2 separate regions of the Homo sapiens genome follow, and region 1 is linked to region 2. Evidence: promoter capture Hi-C in human tissues and cell types (Jung and others, 2019). All regions are on one chromosome and are shown on one strand. The core of a region is centred on a gene start or on the middle of the fragment in contact, and the rest is flanking DNA. Distances in the headings are between cores, read along the strand shown. Region 1 has its middle 210 kb from the start of SLC24A2. Region 2 holds the start of IFNA16 (interferon alpha 16).

The links. Contacts are between HindIII fragments. The study calls those that stand out against the background at their distance.
Region 1: a fragment that was not itself captured here is called in contact with the fragment with the promoter of IFNA16 in region 2 in 1 of the 25 tissues and cell types used here (dorsolateral prefrontal cortex).

Annotation. Positions count from the first base shown.
Region 1 is chr9:19,997,111-20,002,268 of GRCh38, forward strand. It overlaps a transcript of SLC24A2 not described here. Among named protein-coding and RNA genes, the nearest start is that of SLC24A2, 210 kb to the left of the region's middle. RefSeq lists an enhancer at 2,190-3,389. The HindIII fragment of the contact is 3,417 bases long and covers 841-4,257 here.
Region 2 is chr9:21,214,329-21,219,872 of GRCh38, forward strand. IFNA16 (interferon alpha 16) reads right to left here and starts at 2,983. Exons shown (of 1, transcript NM_002173.3): 1 at 2,045-2,983. The coding sequence starts at 2,977. The coding sequence ends at 2,408. The HindIII fragment of the contact is 8,956 bases long and covers 1-5,147 here.

The sequences.
Region 1 (5,158 bases), core at 1,299-3,798, 1.2 Mb before region 2:
GAGAGAGCACAGAGCATTTTCCTCAAGACAAGAAGAGAGATTTAGAACTTAGTCATCACAATTTTACTGTTTCTTCTTAATAATTTTTGGAATCTGGTCTTGGTGCTAGATTTGCAATAATCAGACTAGGTGTGAGTTTAGGGAACCAGCAAAGCAGGGGCACAGAAAGAAAGAGAAAGAGAAAGAGAGAAATTAGAATAAAGATAATTCCAGTACCCATTTAAGCTTTATGTCACCTCAAAAAGTAAGTTTACTTTACAGTTTGATACAACTTTGATTTTGACTTTCATATGGAAGTGGACGTACCATATTAGTTTAGGTCATGATACCTTTTACATTCTTAAGCTATTCCTTGGAGTGAGGAACTGAGGTCCCCATTTGTGAGCCCAAGAAGATCAGAGGAGGTGGTCAGGATCATTCAGCACACTCTCAGCAAGTGTCAGACTCACCCAACAACAGAAAGGGAAACCCCAGTCACAGATCCACTATTATAGAAGGGGAGAGGTAAACAGAGAGAATTTACTGAGTGGTTAGAAATGATTCCACTCATGAAAAAACAGGCGTACAACAGCAGCTAGGAGTGAGCAAGACAAACTCCAGTCTTCAGAATTACACACAGATTCAGCTCTGTTGAGATCTTACTTGATGACATGGTTGGACTCAGGCAACACATTTTATTTGCCAATGAAACTGTATTTGGATAAATAGTTAATTTGCCTGTGTCCCTCACTGCAAAAGAGAAGCTCTTATTTCCTTCTCAGTTTGAATCAGATTTGAATCAGAATTTTATCAATAGAAGATTCAGCATTAATTTTCTCTGGCTCTTTCCAATAGGCCCTCCTAGTTACTATCTCTTAGTTCATACCTGGCATCCTTATATTTTTGGGAAAAAAGCCAATACTATTAAGGATAAGCCATACAATAATAAAAATTATATTAATAATAATGCATCTCTCACTATTTAGCACTTACTCTGTGCCGGAAGCTGTGGTAAGTAATTTACATTCATTGTCTCAATTGGTCTTCACAATGAAACAACAAAATCTGTAATTATCATTTTCTCCATTTTAGAGATGGGAGATTGAGATTTAGACATGGCAGGGCTAGGATTCAAACTCTGGCAGATGAACTCTGAGTGTGCCCCTCTTCAGAAATGGGTCTTCCATTCAGACCCATTCAGGGGTTAACTCAGCCTGAACTCGCCCACACATACCCTGTTTTGAGCTCAACTTCCTTCTGGCAGCAGTACTTCCTGAAGCCTGTCAATGATTCACTTCCGGGTCACCTCTACCCTCTGTGAGCCTTGTGAGACATTTTAAATGCCAGAGCCACATTCATTCATTGTAGCTCCAGCATTTCTTTTCCTAGGGACATGCTATTTTCATTAGGATTAAAACAGCCCCCAGCAATAAATATTAAAAACCTGCCCAGTGAAAAGAGCAGCTTCCTCAGAAGCTTATGAGGATTAGAATTTTTAAGCAGGCCCCGCTTCCTATGACCACCCCTCTTCTCCATCCCTTTGTGTGCTCCCACATGGGTGTGCTTTCAGCATCAATCAGATTTGCTGTTTTGCTCAAATCCGTTCATACTAATTGTCTGCCCATATTGCTGTGTGCTCTGGACAGAATGGTCTGGGAGAAATAGAAACTCACTCCTTCTCCCACCCCTGGGGGGATTCAGATTTTGTGTGCTTGATCTTTGTTGGTGGCAAGATAAAAATGCTTGCTATACATAGCAGCTTTCCTCCTTCATGTTCAACGGCAGCCCTGATGATGGGGGACCTCAGCCATCCTATTTGTTCTAAAGCCACCCACAGAAGAATCAGACCAGCAGAAGCCAGAAATAAGCTAGCTGGGGCTGCAAGTCTCTTTGTGTGTGGTGATATAGCAGAGAGACTTGGGAAAGTCAATTATTTTCAGTATGAGTTTTGGTTCCACTGCTTCATGGTGTAAGATGGGGATCCCCAATTTGTTCATCTGTAAAATGAAGATGCTAATGCCTACCCACTGGGGCTATTGGGAGAATTAAAGACCTATATAAAGTGTTTAGTGCAAGACTTGGAGCAGGGAGCCACGGCTTTGCCTGTCACTCCTTCGCCTCCCTGGCTGGAAGCCTGAGTAGTAGGTGAGGCATTTATTATCCATGTTCATTAACATCCCTGAAGACTTGTGGTTCCTGTATTGAAAACCACACTGAGTGTTCCCAGTTAATTGGGTGTCCTTGGGCCTGAGTTTCTCTACACAAATATATGAGCTTGGGATTTTTAAAAAGTATACAGTAATTATATTCTTGGACAAATGGTACCTTTTCTAGAAAAGCACAGAGAATTCTTTCAGCACTCAGGGCTAGGTAGGAATTGCTTGATGTATGGGTAGCAACTCATAGTAACTAATGATTTACAATAAATACTCCAACAAAGAAAAGTCTGAGTAAACTCTATATTTCATCCTCATGGCAATGAGCTACAAAAGGTTTGCATTTTAAATCAACTGGTGGTTGTACCCCAGAAGGATGTGGTCTAAATAGATTTGTGTGACAGGGTAATTACTCATCACGGAAAGGATCCCAGCTGTCATCATGGTTTCTCACTAAGCAGTCAGTGAGTGAGCAGTTATGGAATTACAGGGCTGACCTCCTGTGTCCTGCCTTACAGTCATCCTGAGCCAGAGTCACAGAGTTTCATCAGGGGGACCCAGGAGGCACAAAGCAGTCAACACCCATGGCTGAGAATCAAAGTCTAGAAGGGGCCTGTTTTCAACCTCTTCATCCGGGTCACTGGTGGCAATTTTGCCAAGTGACTAAAGAGCTAGACTAGGAGTTCCCCAGTTCAGGGTCTTAATGGCCTGAATGTTCAAGACAGTGTGGAGAGGTTCAGAGACTGCAGTCTTTGGGGTTACACAGACCTGTGCTGGAGTCTCAGTCTTTGGGGTTACACAGACCTGTGCTGCTGCTCACTTTGTGATCGATCTGCAACTAAAAAACCACATTTCTCTGATTTACTATTTTTCTAGCTGTAAAATGGAGGTAATAATTCCTACTTTAAAAGATTTTAAACTAGTATGTATGGAAATGGTTGGCACTTAATGAACATTATTATTTCACCTTTTGAAGTACCATTAGGTGCCAGAAACTGTGCTAAGCATATTACATGGACTTTGCTCATAACAGTTCCCTATTTTATGGATAAGGAATTGGAGGAATCTTGCCCAAGTAGCTAGTATGCAGCTAGTTAGTAGCAGAGACAGAATTTGACCTAGGCAGGTTGGATCCAGACTGCCCTATAATCATCAGAGGGTGAAAACATACCTTCAACTGGAGTTTCAGAGACTTTTGTGCCAGTTCTTGATAAACATTGTATAGGTATAAACTCTATCTTCAAAAAGTTTATCCAGTCTCATTGGAGGACAAGGGAGAAACATCAGAACACAAACGGCCCTGAGAATAGACCACCTGGCAACAAACAATAACTGCTGTAGGAGCTCAGTGAAGATCAGGAACTCACGACACATGGATCTCTTCTCCCGCAGTCTCCATATCTGCCACATTTTTTTGCACTGGAGTTTCTTATGTGTCAGTGTTATATAATTTTAAGGCTCTGATTTTGAACTAAAGAATGGACCCCAGTTTTGCCTTAAGCATAAAGACAGGAAATATACATGCCCTAGAGACTAAGTTAACAGTAAAATGTGAGACTGTTCCTCCTCTATACACAGAGAAAACTTTCATGGGAAAAACAGGATCACTGTTGAGACAGAAAAGTTATGTATGAGAGGGTGTGGAGGACGGAAGGAGGCAGGAAGCATAACTTGGAATTATTGCTTTTTAAGCTTAGAAGGGTCATCTGACCCTAATGGATAGTAAGATGAATATTATCTTGGTATCCAAGAGCAAAGATCACGTTTTGAGGCCCTTTCTCTCCCCATCCATTGCTCTAATGGGCCCACCCTCACTTTAAAAATAAACAATCAAATGCAAACGTGGCAGTTGCATTTTGTGGGCCACAAAGGAGAAAGTTAAAGCCTGGAGGATCAGCACTTCGTTTCTGATGGCAGAGCCTGCATTGTCCCTGCTGCGCCACACATCCTGTCCTCTTAGATCCAGCAATGAGTGGGCTGAGGATAGGAGGGAGTGTGCATCCACCTTCCTGCAAAGCTGCAGGTTTACCTGTGGAGAGTGCTCTGCATGCCTCACAACGCACCCTCTCACCCTCCTGGCACTCTATTTTGGCTCAGGTCTGCATGGAGAGAAGGGAACTGTCCTGCGGAAGAAATCTGGAAGGGGGTTAAGCCTAGCAGGAAGGGGAAGAAGCCAAGGCAACCAATTAATTTTCCTTTGCTGCTTAAATCATTCTCGCCCAATCTGCTGAGCTGAGAATAAGCATAACTGTCCCCAAGGTGTCAAGGCCCTGCCTTTTTTGGGTAAATCACATGGGAATCAAAAATAGAACCACTGTGAAAAAAGGCGTCTCAGTCCACCCTCCACTGGCAATGGCTGAGTTTGGTGGATATTCATCTCTATTCCATGTCATCCGCCAACTTTGAGGCCTGCTTGCCACATCACCAAAGAGGTTGCTAAGCATCTTCCTACCGAGTCTTTAAGATTTGTTACATGGATTTGGGCATTATACAGACATGTCTTTTATTTATGATGCCTCTGGTTAAAGGTTGCCTCTCCCAAAGAAAAAAAGCTTCACAAAGCAACACCTACTTTGATCCAGCACTAAAATATTTAGTAGAGTGCTATCTCCCAAAATGTGTTTATTGAAACATCAGTTCTGTGATATATTCCCAGAAAAATGTACTTCATGGAAAATATGTAAGTCCACATAAGAATACTAAAGGTAAGAATACTGTTTATGTGAGTTTAATACAGCATTTCTAAAATTTATTTATTGATAGAATTCTTTTGATTTTCAAAAGTTTGAGGCAGTCCTCAGGGCTGAGGACTAAAGCCCTGCTTTAGTGGAACATACTTAGGTAAATGCTGATGAATCCACAAGGATTGTTTTAGTACCACCACCTCTGGTGCAGAGACAAGCATTCTGCTTGTCACCACAAGATTTCAACATCGGAAGAGTAATAGTAATACCAATAGCACTACCATTTCACCCCAACTCTGTGTCTACGTAGGCTGTTGAGCCAGCACTGATGTACCAGTA
Region 2 (5,544 bases), core at 1,733-4,232:
GGAGTGTACTCTGGGATTCTGAGAGCCAGGAAACAAATGTTCCAGGTGCCAGAATCAGTTAACCATCGACACGTGTATTCTGCCCTTCACTCTAGATGCTGCTCCTCTGACAGGTATTTATACAAGCCACCATTCCTGACTGAATATAAATGGGACTTTGAAATGAGGTGAGAATTTTTCAGCCTCTCTAGAATTCATGACAGAATTCTGTTGTTTTAGGCTGCCTAAAAACAGTATATACAAGCAGAATGGAATTTCAATGTAAAATAAGTTATTATTTTTACCGGATGTGTAAATTTTGTGTTAGGATTTCCTTAATAATTATTAATCTCCTTTTTTCCTCATTTATACGCAACCATCTCCTGCTCTCTGAATTTCCTTGGTTCATGTTGTATTTTCAGCTGATTTTGACCAACTTTCTTTTTAAATTTTGCTGTAAGTTCCGGGATAGGTGTGCAGAACGTGCAGATTTGTTACATAGGTATACATGTGCCATGGTGGTTTGCCTCACCTATCAACTCGTCACCTAGGTTTTAATCACAATTTGTTTTAATCCAGTGTATTATTGATGGGCATTTGGGTTGGTTTCGTGTCTTTGCCATTATAAACAGTGCTGCAATACACATACACGTTCATGTATTTTATAACAGAACGATTTATATTCCTTTGGGTATATAGTCAGTAATGGGATTGCTGGGTCAAATGGTATTTCTGGTTCTAGATCCTTGATGAATCGCCACACTGTCTTCCACAATGGTTGAAGTAATTTACATTCCCTCCAACAGTGTAAAAGATTTCCTATTTTTCTACAGCTTCACCAGCATCTGTTGATTTTGACTCTTCAATAATTGCCATTCTGAGTGGCATGAGATGGTATTTCATTGTGGTTTTGATTCGCATTTCTCTAATGATCAGCGATGTTGAGTTTTTAAATGATTATTGGCCTCATAAATGTCTACTTTTAAGAAGAGTCTGTTCATATCCTTCACCCACTTTTTGATGGGGCTCTTTGTTTTTGTAAATTTAAGCTCTTTTTTGTACATTCTGGATATTAGACCTGTGTCAGTTGGGTAGGCTGCAAAGATTTTCTCCCATTCTGTGGGTTGCCTGTTCACTCTGATGATGGATAGTTTCTTTTGCGTGCATACGTTCTCTAATTAGATGCCATTTGTCAGTTTTAGCTTTTGTTGCAGTTGCTTTTGTCGATTTCTTCATAAAATCTTTGCCCATCCTGTGTCCTACATTTTTTCTAGGGTTTTTATGGTTTTGGGTTTTACATTTAAGTCTTTAATCCATCTTGAGTTAATTTTTGTATAAGGTGTAAGGAAGTGGTCCAGTTTCAATTTTCTGCCTATGGCTATCCAGTTTTTCCAGCACCATTTATCATCATTCCTTCTAAATACATTTTATCATCATTCCCTCTCGTCCTTCTAATGATAAGGTATTCCACCTCTGTTTTCTTTGTGTGTCTTCTGTTCCCCCACTTTAATAGTGGAAGTTCCTCAGAATCCAGTTTAAGTCTTTTTTTCCCTCTCCGCTTGCTCCCCACATGACAGCCTTCATTTTAGGCCTTTCCATTGCCAGTTATGAACTTCCAGATATCGTATTCCTTGGAAACTGCAAACTCATATATCTGACTTGCAATGTACATTTTCAATTACATGTTGAAAGTCAGTTTATAGAGAGTATCTCTACTTTTACTTGCAGACATTTCTTAATCTATGTTCTGCTAAGAGGAATTCATTGTTTTTTTTTACTTCCTCACATTACAGCAGTTAGTATAACTGATATTAATTCAGCATTATTATTGTTTTTAGAAACATTTCCTGACAAAAATCAAAGATACAAGACAACAAGAACTGTATTTTTTATGTTCAAGTTTATATCCTGAAGGCAACATATAACGTGGTATAGAAAAATATATTTTTCTATAACTTGAATAAAATTATGATAGGTAACTTACTTAAATCATCTATTTTTAAGTCAGGTTATACAGTCAGGCTTGGTATTTAATCTTAAAAAATAAACAAACACAAGAAATTTTGTATAGTAAAAATTTAATGAAAAGGAAGTTAATATATTAACTAAATATGAAGAACATATATTGTTACATTAAGCAAAATGTAAAGGTACACATGATATTACATAAAACATGATTTAAACCTTAAAAATAGTTAAATAAATAAATATTTAAATAAATAGATGAATAGAGACATCAGCATGGTCATCTGTAAAGGACTAGTGCCTGCACAGGTAAACACGATGCTTCTTTACACTCCTGAAAACATTTGAAAATTTTGATTCAACTTGTGGTGGTTATAGAAGTGAGTCTTTGAAATGGAAGAACTCATGAAAGTGTGAGATGATGTATTAATCAATGAGGATCATTTCCATGTTGAATGAGTTTTCAATCCTTCCTTCTTAATCCTTTTTGCAAGTTTGTTGAAAAAGAGAAGGATCTCATGATTTCTGCTCTGACAACCTCCCAGGCACAAGGGCTGTATTTCTTCCCCATCAGATAAAGAGTGATTCTTTGAAAGTATTTCCTCACAGCCAGGATGGAGTCCTCATTCATCAGGGCAATCTCTTCCACCCCAACCTCCTGTGTCACACAGGCTTCTAGGTCATTCAGTTGCTGGAAAAGTTCAATGTAGAATTTGTCTAGGAGGGTCTCATCCCAAGCAGCAGATGAATCCTTTGTGCTGAAGAGATTGAAGGTCTGCTGGATCATCTCATGGAAGGCAGAGATGGCTTGAGCCTTCTGGAACTGGTTGCCATCAAACACCTCCTGGGGGAATCCGAAATCATATCTGTCCTTCAGGCAGGAGAAATGAGAGATTCTTCCCATTTGTGCCAGGAGTATCAAGGCCCTCCTATTACCCAGGCTGTGAGTCTGAGGCAGATCACAGCCCAGAGAACAGATGGATTTGTAGCTGAGCACCAGCACGGCCATCAGTAAAGAAAAGGACAGGGCCATTGGGATGTTGCAAATATTGCTAGGCTACTGGAGATGGGTAAACTTGAACCTTGGCCTCTAGGTTTTCTGAAGACTTTGCTCTGTGCATAGTTCTTAAATAGTGAACATACTAATTTCCATTTTCTAAATGCCCTGGTTTTACTTTCTATCTCTGTTTTTGCTTTCTTTATGCACTCTCTACATGTGTTTACATATGTTTTTCATTTTGTTCATCATTGCCTATTTTTCCCCTGCACTCAAAGACTTTTATGGTATTTTTTACTAATTGGAATCTTCATGAAATTTTAATAACACAGATTTGGCATATCTATTTATGTATACTACGTATACCTCTACTTCACAGATAAAAACTATAAAGTTTGCTCTTTTTATTCAATGTAAAGTTAAGAATGACAGAAAAGTTAAACTAAAATCTAAGTTTAAAAGCTGTTGACATATAACTTAATTTGATAAGTATATTTCTGGAATAACTTTTAGTGTAATTCATTAATGTAAATTATATTTTATCAAATTACATATGCAATATAAAAGCTATATAAATACACGTTAATATGAATGTAATTACATACTGAATCATTGAAAACTACTAAATATATGAATCAATAATTTTTTAAAATTTTTCTCATAGTGTATGAAGCTTTGAATTTTGCTTAATATGAGAAAATAATTTGTAAACTTTACTAGCTGCAGTATTCATCCAGATATTGCCAACACTTTTTTCTTTTCAGCACTTGACATAAATATTGATGTGTTGAATAACTGTACTAGAAATAAATCATATGATACAAGCTATTTGCATTGAATTCTCAAAGTCTACAAAACATCCTGAAGAACTGAGGATCAAACATAAGCAATAACCATAAGATAGTCAATGGCAGCCCAAAGGTGTGCAGGTTAAAGCCACATATTATGATAAGATTTTAAGATCAAGCAAAAATGGACAGAATGTCCTCCTATCACAGTCTTCTATTTGCCATAGGTTTGTAACACTGATCTTGCAAATATTTTGTGTATCTTCAGGAACTCAATATCAGTGCTTCTCATGTGATACAGCAGAAAATCCAATGAGAGAGATGTATATTAAGCAATGAAATTTTGTTGGACAGAGTTGTTAGAGAATCACCAACTATTGTAATGTGTTAGGTTAGTTTATACTTCGAGAACCCTTAGGAGAAGTATCACATAGACATATGTGACTTAGAATATATTATCATGTAAAGAATTAATTTTCAGAGTGGTCCTGAACTCTGACTCTACCTTTTCTTTTGCCTAAGAAGTTAGTTTGCCTTGGCCCTATAGATACTGAGTCTTTAAATGGAATGAGGTCTGCTTTAGCAAATCAGCTATTTAGTAAGTGGAGTTTTTACTAGTTTCTCATTTTTTCTTCTACTGGAAAGTGTTCAAGAATGAAGCTATTTTGCTTCCTCATGGCCATATTTGCTGGGATTGTAATAGACAATGACAAAAGTTTCCATTCAGCTTTTACTGAGAGTCAATAATGCCCATTTAGTTTACTGCTTAAACCACTGGGATTCTAGTTTTTTTAAGGTTCATGTAGATCTGGGGATACAAGTTGCAAGAGCAGCATAATATCATCCTTTGCTAGCACTATGTTAACTATTTATGGCTTCATCTCTAATCTGTCCTCTATTTTGTGATAATAGAAAATAAGTAGCCTGGTGTCAAATACAGAGTCACATATCTAATTTCAAACTCTCCAATTCACACAGTTTATAGGAATCAGACAATTTACTATTCCCAAAAGTAGGGAATAATAGCCTCTATCCCCCAAATAATCCTACAGCTTTCCTTCCCTGGATCAAATCCCCAGAATGTGTATGTGAACGGTAGATACTTGTGACATCATTTTTCCATCATTTATAAATTTCAGTTTCAAATCACGTGATAATCTTTAGATGACACTAGTAGAAAATTAGCCTGTTTATATAAAGGTAGAGATTATGAAATGGACCAATTTTAGAAAATAACCAAACACATTTTATTATTCATTATTTTAAATGATTCACTTAAATTCTTTATATCATTGAACAATTAAAATATTCTACATTTTGAAATGTGCACAGGGGTTTCCATAATAGAGGAGGTTTCATTTCAGAAATGTATATTTTGTACATTAATTTAGTAGTTGATCCAGTCAACACATTTTTATTGAATTTTGGGCTAATCCTTTGTATCAGACCCGGACAATACAGGGCAATTTTGCCCAAGTTATTATGCTTAGTCTTTGAAACACTGGGGGAGAGAGTATTTTTTCTTTGTTCACTTGCGATTGTATGGGGAATTTTTGCGTATTCATTTTTTATGTAGTATTTTACTGTGAAAATTTGTTTTTCTATACTTTGATTTCTTTCATTTTCATATTCAGGTTAGTGTCAATGAAACAATGTACCCAGTAGTCATTCAGGAGCAGGTTGTTCAGTTTCCATGTAGTTGAGCGGTTTTGAGTGAGTTTCTTAATCCTGAGTTCTAGTTTGATTGCACTGTGCTCTGAGAGACAGTTTGTTATAATTTCTGGTCTTTTACATTTACTGAGGAGAGCTTTACTT